Linked DNA regions of Homo sapiens: region 1 is linked to region 2. Evidence: promoter capture Hi-C in human tissues and cell types (Jung and others, 2019). All regions are on one chromosome and are shown on one strand. The core of a region is centred on a gene start or on the middle of the fragment in contact, and the rest is flanking DNA. Distances in the headings are between cores, read along the strand shown.

Region 1 (2,700 bases), core at 147-2,646, 1.0 Mb after region 2:
GTCTTGCTCTGTCACCCAAGCTGGAGTGCAGTGGAGCAATCTTGGCTCATGGCAAGCTCTACCTCCTGGGTTCACGCCATTCTCCTACCTCAGCCTCCCAAGTAGCTGGGACTACAGGCGCCCTCCACCATGCCCGGATAATTTTTTTGTATTTTTAGTAGAGACGGGGTTTCACCGTGTTAGCCAGGATGGTCTCGATCTGCTGACCTCGTGATCCGCCCGCCTCAGCCTCACAAAGTGCTGGGATTACAGGCGTGAGCCACTGCACCTGGCCCAACATGCTATTTTCCATAATAGCTATGCTAACTAATATTCCCACCAACAGTATACAAGGATTTCCTTTTCTGTACATCCTTGCCACCACTTATGTTTTGCCTTTTTGATGGTAGACATTCTACCAGGTTTGAGGTGATATTTCACTGTGGTTTTAATTTGCATTTCCCTGATGATTAGCGATGTCGAGCATTTTTCACATACCTATTGGCCACATGTATGTCTTCTTTTGAAAAATGTCCACTCAGGCCCTTTGTCTATATTTTGATCAGAACATTTGTTTTCTTTTCTTACTGTTGAGTTGTTTGAGTTCCTTATCTACTTTGGACATGAATCTCTTATCGTATGTATGTTGTGCAGGTATCTTCCTCCACTCCATAGGTCATCTCTTCACTCTGCTGTTTCCTTTGCTATGCAACAGCCTTGGGTTGGATGTAATCCTGTGTGTCTCTTGCTTTTGTTGCCTGTCCTTAGGGTCACATCGAAAAAGCCATTGCCCAGAGCAACGTTAGGGAGCTTTTCCCCTGTTTCCTTCCAGGAGGTTTATAGAAAAAGTCATTGCCCAGAGCGACGTTGGGGAGCTTTCCCCCTGTTTCCTTCCAGGAGGTTTATAGAAAAAGTCATTGCCCAGAGCAACGTTGGGGAGCTTTCCCCCTGTTTCCTTCCAGGAGGTTTATAGAAAAAGTCATTGCCCAGAGCGACGTTGGGGAGCTTTTCCCCTGTTTCCTTCCAGGAGGTTTATAGAAAAAGTCATTGCCCAGAGCGACGTTGGGGAGCTTTTCCCCTGTTTCCTTCCAGGAGGTTTATAGAAAAAGTCATTGCCCAAAGCGACGTTGGGGAGCTTTTCCCCTGTTTCCTTCCAGGAGGTTTATAGAAAAAGCCATTGCCCAGAGCGACGTTGGGGAGCTTTTCCCCTGTTTCCTTCCGGGAGGTTTATAGAAAAAGTCATTGCCCAGAGCGACGTTGGGGAGCTTTTCCCCTGTCTCCTTCCGGGAGGTTTATGGAAAAAGTCATTGCCCAGAGCGACGTTGGGGAGCTTTTCCCCTGTCTCCTTCCAGGAGGTTTATAGAAAAAGTCATTGCCCAGAGCGACGTTAGGGAGCTTTTCCCCTGTCTTCTTCCAGGAGGTTTATAGAAAAAGCCATTGCGCAGAGCGACGTTAGGGAGCTTTTCCCCTGTCTTCTTCCAGGAGGTTTATAGAAAAAGCCATTGCCCAGAGCGACGTTAGGGAGCTTTTCCCCTGTTTCCTTCCAGGAGGTTTATAGAAAAAGCCATTGCCCAGAGCGACGTTAGGGAGCTTTTCCCCTGTCTTCTTCCAGGAGGTTTATAGAAGAAGCCATTGCCCAGAGCGACGTTAGGGAGCTTTTCCCCTGTCTTCTTCCAGTAGGTTTATAGAAAAAGTCATTACCCAGAGCAACGTTGGGGAGCTTTTCCCCTGTTTCCTTCCAGGAGGTTTATAGAAAAAGTCATTGCCCAGAGCAACGTTAGGGAGCTTTTCCCCTGTTTCCTTCCAGGAGGTTTATAGAAAAAGTCATTGCCCAGAGCGACGTTAGGGAGCTTTTCCCCTGTTTCCTTCCAGGAGGTTCATAGAAAAAGCCATTGCCCAGAGCGACGTTGGGGAGCTTTTCCCCTGTTTCCTTCCAGGAGGTTTATAGAAAAAGTCTGCCCAGAGCGACGTTGGGGAGCTTTTCCCCTGTTTCCTTCCAGGAGGTTTATAGTCTCAGGCCTTACGCTTAAGTCTCTCTAGAATTCTTAAATTTGTGAACATCCCAAGAAGTGGAAGTAGGAAAAATGTTGAGCTATCAGTATATATGATATGGGTAAAGTGAAGTCTGTCTAGTTTACAGGAGGTTAATAAAATAATTTGAAAACTTATTTTGGCTGAAATTTTGTGCATTCTCTTTTGAGAAATAACTTTCTGTGAATCTGCTTTAAAGTAGAAAAGATGTTAATTTGCATTTCATCTCTTTTTATCTCCGCCCTATTCAATTTCTAGTTGAGATGCAAGTGAACAGTAAAATAACCAAATTTTAGTAAGAACAAGAGGCAGGACCAGAAATGATCTACAGGCTGCATAGTTAAGCTTGGAGTATTCAGAAGTGGACTATTTGTGTTTTGTGGTTTAAGACAAGAATTATTGGCTCTTTTCTGGATATAGCTGTGAGTTATTTATGAAATTATAGAAATTTTTTTGTTGAATGATAGAATTCAAAAGAATATAAAAAGAAAAATCACCAATAATCCTATAAACTGAAGATAGAAACTTTTTATACTTTTATTGTATTTTGTTTCAAACATCTCTCTTGGCATAAATACATATGTTTATGTATGTATGTGTTTGTGTGTGATTAAAACTGGATTATATGACATACTTTTTGAGGTTTTATTGTATTTTAACCTCAGCATCCAACAGAGGAAGTTTTTGAAG
Region 2 (2,700 bases), core at 70-2,569:
CTCACGCAGACATATACACACACTCTGTCACTCACGTTCAACACAAACAAATACGCCCACTGGAAGCCAAGGTGAGCCACACGTGAACAGACATCACCCACACAGAGACTCAAAGCGAGGGGGACTCGCAGTCAGGTGTCACACAGACTCAGCACAGACGCAGTCAGTCCGCGGGGCCTCAAGTGCCTCAGCACAACGGGGGAAATGTTCACTTTGGGGTTTGAAAGTTCTGCTCCCTGGATCGATCCACTAGTCCCCATCAGGAAACACAGCAGCTTCCCAAGCCCTGAGGTGTAGGACCTTTTGCAGGGGTCCCCCGACTTTCGCATCGCCTTTGCACTTAAAACAGGCAGTCCGCTTACCTCCAGGTCTCTCCCTTCCAGGCTCGAAAAGGGCCCAGCAGAAAAGAGGCATGGGTGCTGGGTCTCTTCTGTTGCCGATGCTCTCGGTTCTGCCTCTCCGGTCCTTTCCACACCGGCCTCCCTTTCCCCCAAAGTCCCGAGTGTCCACCCCCCTTACCCGCCCCTGGAGCCGCTTCGCCTCCAGCAGCCTCAGTCGCGCCGCCTCCACGTGCCTCGCTCTTCCCAGTCTCGTCCCGGGAGGGAGCTCCGCACGCACCGCGCAGACTCCTGCCCTCCGGCAAAGTCCTACCAAGTCCCCGCGCCCCAGCCTTACCGGTCCCAGGGTGCGGGAAGGTGGGATGGGTGCGCTAAGCCAGTTCCAAGGAGTCCGCCCCGAGCGCCAACTCTTCCGGCCGCGGCGATCGTTCTGCGGGGACGACAGGGCGTCAGCGCGCAGAGCCGGGCTCCGGCCGGGGCCGACGGGCGGCGCAGTGAAGGCGGGGCCGCGGGGCCAAGCCCACCCCGCGCCGACCGGCCCCGGTGCGCCCAGCGGAGCGGAGCGGAGCGCGCGGAGGGAGGAGTTTTCCCAGAATGGGACTGACGGGAAAACACGGGGATCCCTATTCCTGGAGGAGTGAGTCAACCGGGAGCGAGGAGGGGAGCGCGGGGCGGACAGGAGGGAAGCGGGAGAGGGGCAGCGAGCAGCGCCGGAGCGCGGAGGGAAGCCAGAGGTCGGGACGGAGCGCGTCGGAGCGCAGAGGTCCAAGGCGGGAACGCGGGCGGCGGAAAGAAAAGAGCAGCCGAGCACGCGGCGCGAGCGGTCGGCTGCGGCGGCGTGGGGCGCGCGGCCCGTGAGGGCGCCGGCGGGTGCGGCGGGCGCGGGCGCCTCTCACCTGGCGGGACGCGGCGGCGCCGGAGCTGCGGCCCTCCCGCCCCCTGGCCTCGAGTGTGCGAGGAGGACGCTGGAATGCGCGGAATGAGGGCTGGAATGAGATGCGCGCCGCGGCGGGAGGGAGGGAGCCGGAGGGAGTGGCGGCGGGGCCACCGGCACCTCGGGGAGGAGACTGCGCCGCGCGCGGGCGGGCGAGGGGCCGGGCCGCCGGGGCGGGGCGGGGCCGGGCCGGGCCGGGGCGGGCGGCGGGGGAGGGGGCCGAGGGACGGCGGGGACCCCTCCACCCGGGCCTCGGCTGCGGCCCCCACGCCCACTAGCCCTTCGATCTCTCCGCTCCGACTGTTTGGCTGCTCGTTGCGCGCCCCGCGCCCTCCCCTCCTGGCGGGGTCCCGACTCCCTTTCCCAGGAGCCGAGAGCCTTCCTCTTCGCCGGGGTGGGGCTGTCCCGGGGGCGGGGGGGTGGACGGGGCCCAGACTCCCGCCCCGCCACCCGGCGTCCCTCCGCACGAGTCCCTGGGAGGCCGGGGAAGGGGCGGGCTCCCGGCGCGCAGGAAGGGCTGCTCCCTTCCTGCGGCTCCCACCAAAGGACACTTGCTCCGGGGAACCAGGAAGCAGGAACTCGCGGGCTCCATTCCCAGATCCGCTGCCAGTGCCCCCTCGCTTGCCCTCCCCGGCTTTAGCTCTTTCCGTTTTTCTCTCCTGCCCCTTGGGCATCTGTAAAACCGCCACTACGAGTAAACCACATGGGAGAAAGGGCACTCGGTTTGAAGTCCATGTGGCATGCCATGGGACGCCTTCTGGGCTCAGTGACTCAATGAATATTCATCTAAGATGTGTGATGAGTCCAGATACTGTGAAGATCAGGATCAGCCGTCAGCACCTGCCCTCAAAGAGCTCAGAGTTTAGCTGGGGAGGCCTCGGTGTATACTGCCATCGGTGAGAGTCTGGACTTCAGACACACATGCCCAGGAGTCTCTTATTGGGGCAGGAGGTGCTGGAAACACGCTGGGCTCCTTGTTTGGAGACGCTTAGGACAAACGGGCTTAAAGCAGTGTGCTGGCAGGTAGCGCCATCATCTACCTGGCCAGGAGACTGAAACCAAAGGACTTTTGGCTTTTTCCAAAAATCAAATCCAACCTTTTCTGGGGCATTATCACTTAGCCTTGTGTTGGGTGGTTGTCTAGATCTTATCTCCCTTGCCAAACAGAAACTTCCTTGAAGACAGAGTAATGTCTGATTTATCTTATCTTTCACACAGATCCAGCCTGGTGCCTGGGATAGGGAAGTGCATGATAAATGCTGCATAAATGAAAAACAATTGCTACCGTGGAAGATATTGAAAGGAAAGTGCTATCGATGCCAAAGTTGTTTCCAAGAGAGGTATTCCAAAAGTGTTTCAAGCAATGACTGAGCTAAGCATCCAGTCCTGCAAGGTGAAGGCGTTGAAGACGCAGCCCTCATTTGAATA

What was found. Contacts are between HindIII fragments. The study calls those that stand out against the background at their distance.
Region 1: a contact is called between a fragment that was not itself captured here and the fragment with the promoter of TEAD4 in region 2, in 1 of the 25 tissues and cell types used here (dorsolateral prefrontal cortex).

Annotation. Positions count from the first base shown.
Region 1 is chr12:1,957,252-1,959,951 of GRCh38, reverse strand. The region is part of intron 5 of DCP1B (decapping mRNA 1B); the gene reads left to right. Among named protein-coding and RNA genes, the nearest start is that of LINC00940, 22 kb to the right of the region's middle. The HindIII fragment of the contact is 3,913 bases long and covers 1-2,700 here.
Region 2 is chr12:2,958,016-2,960,715 of GRCh38, reverse strand. TEAD4 (TEA domain transcription factor 4) reads right to left here and starts at 1,319. Exons shown (of 13, transcript NM_003213.4): 1 at 1,235-1,319; 2 at 676-768. It overlaps LOC124902859 (a long non-coding RNA gene), which reads left to right and starts at 668. Exons shown (of 2, transcript XR_007063159.1): 1 at 668-975; 2 at 2,491-2,700. RefSeq lists an enhancer at 414-1,149. The HindIII fragment of the contact is 29,957 bases long and covers 1-2,700 here.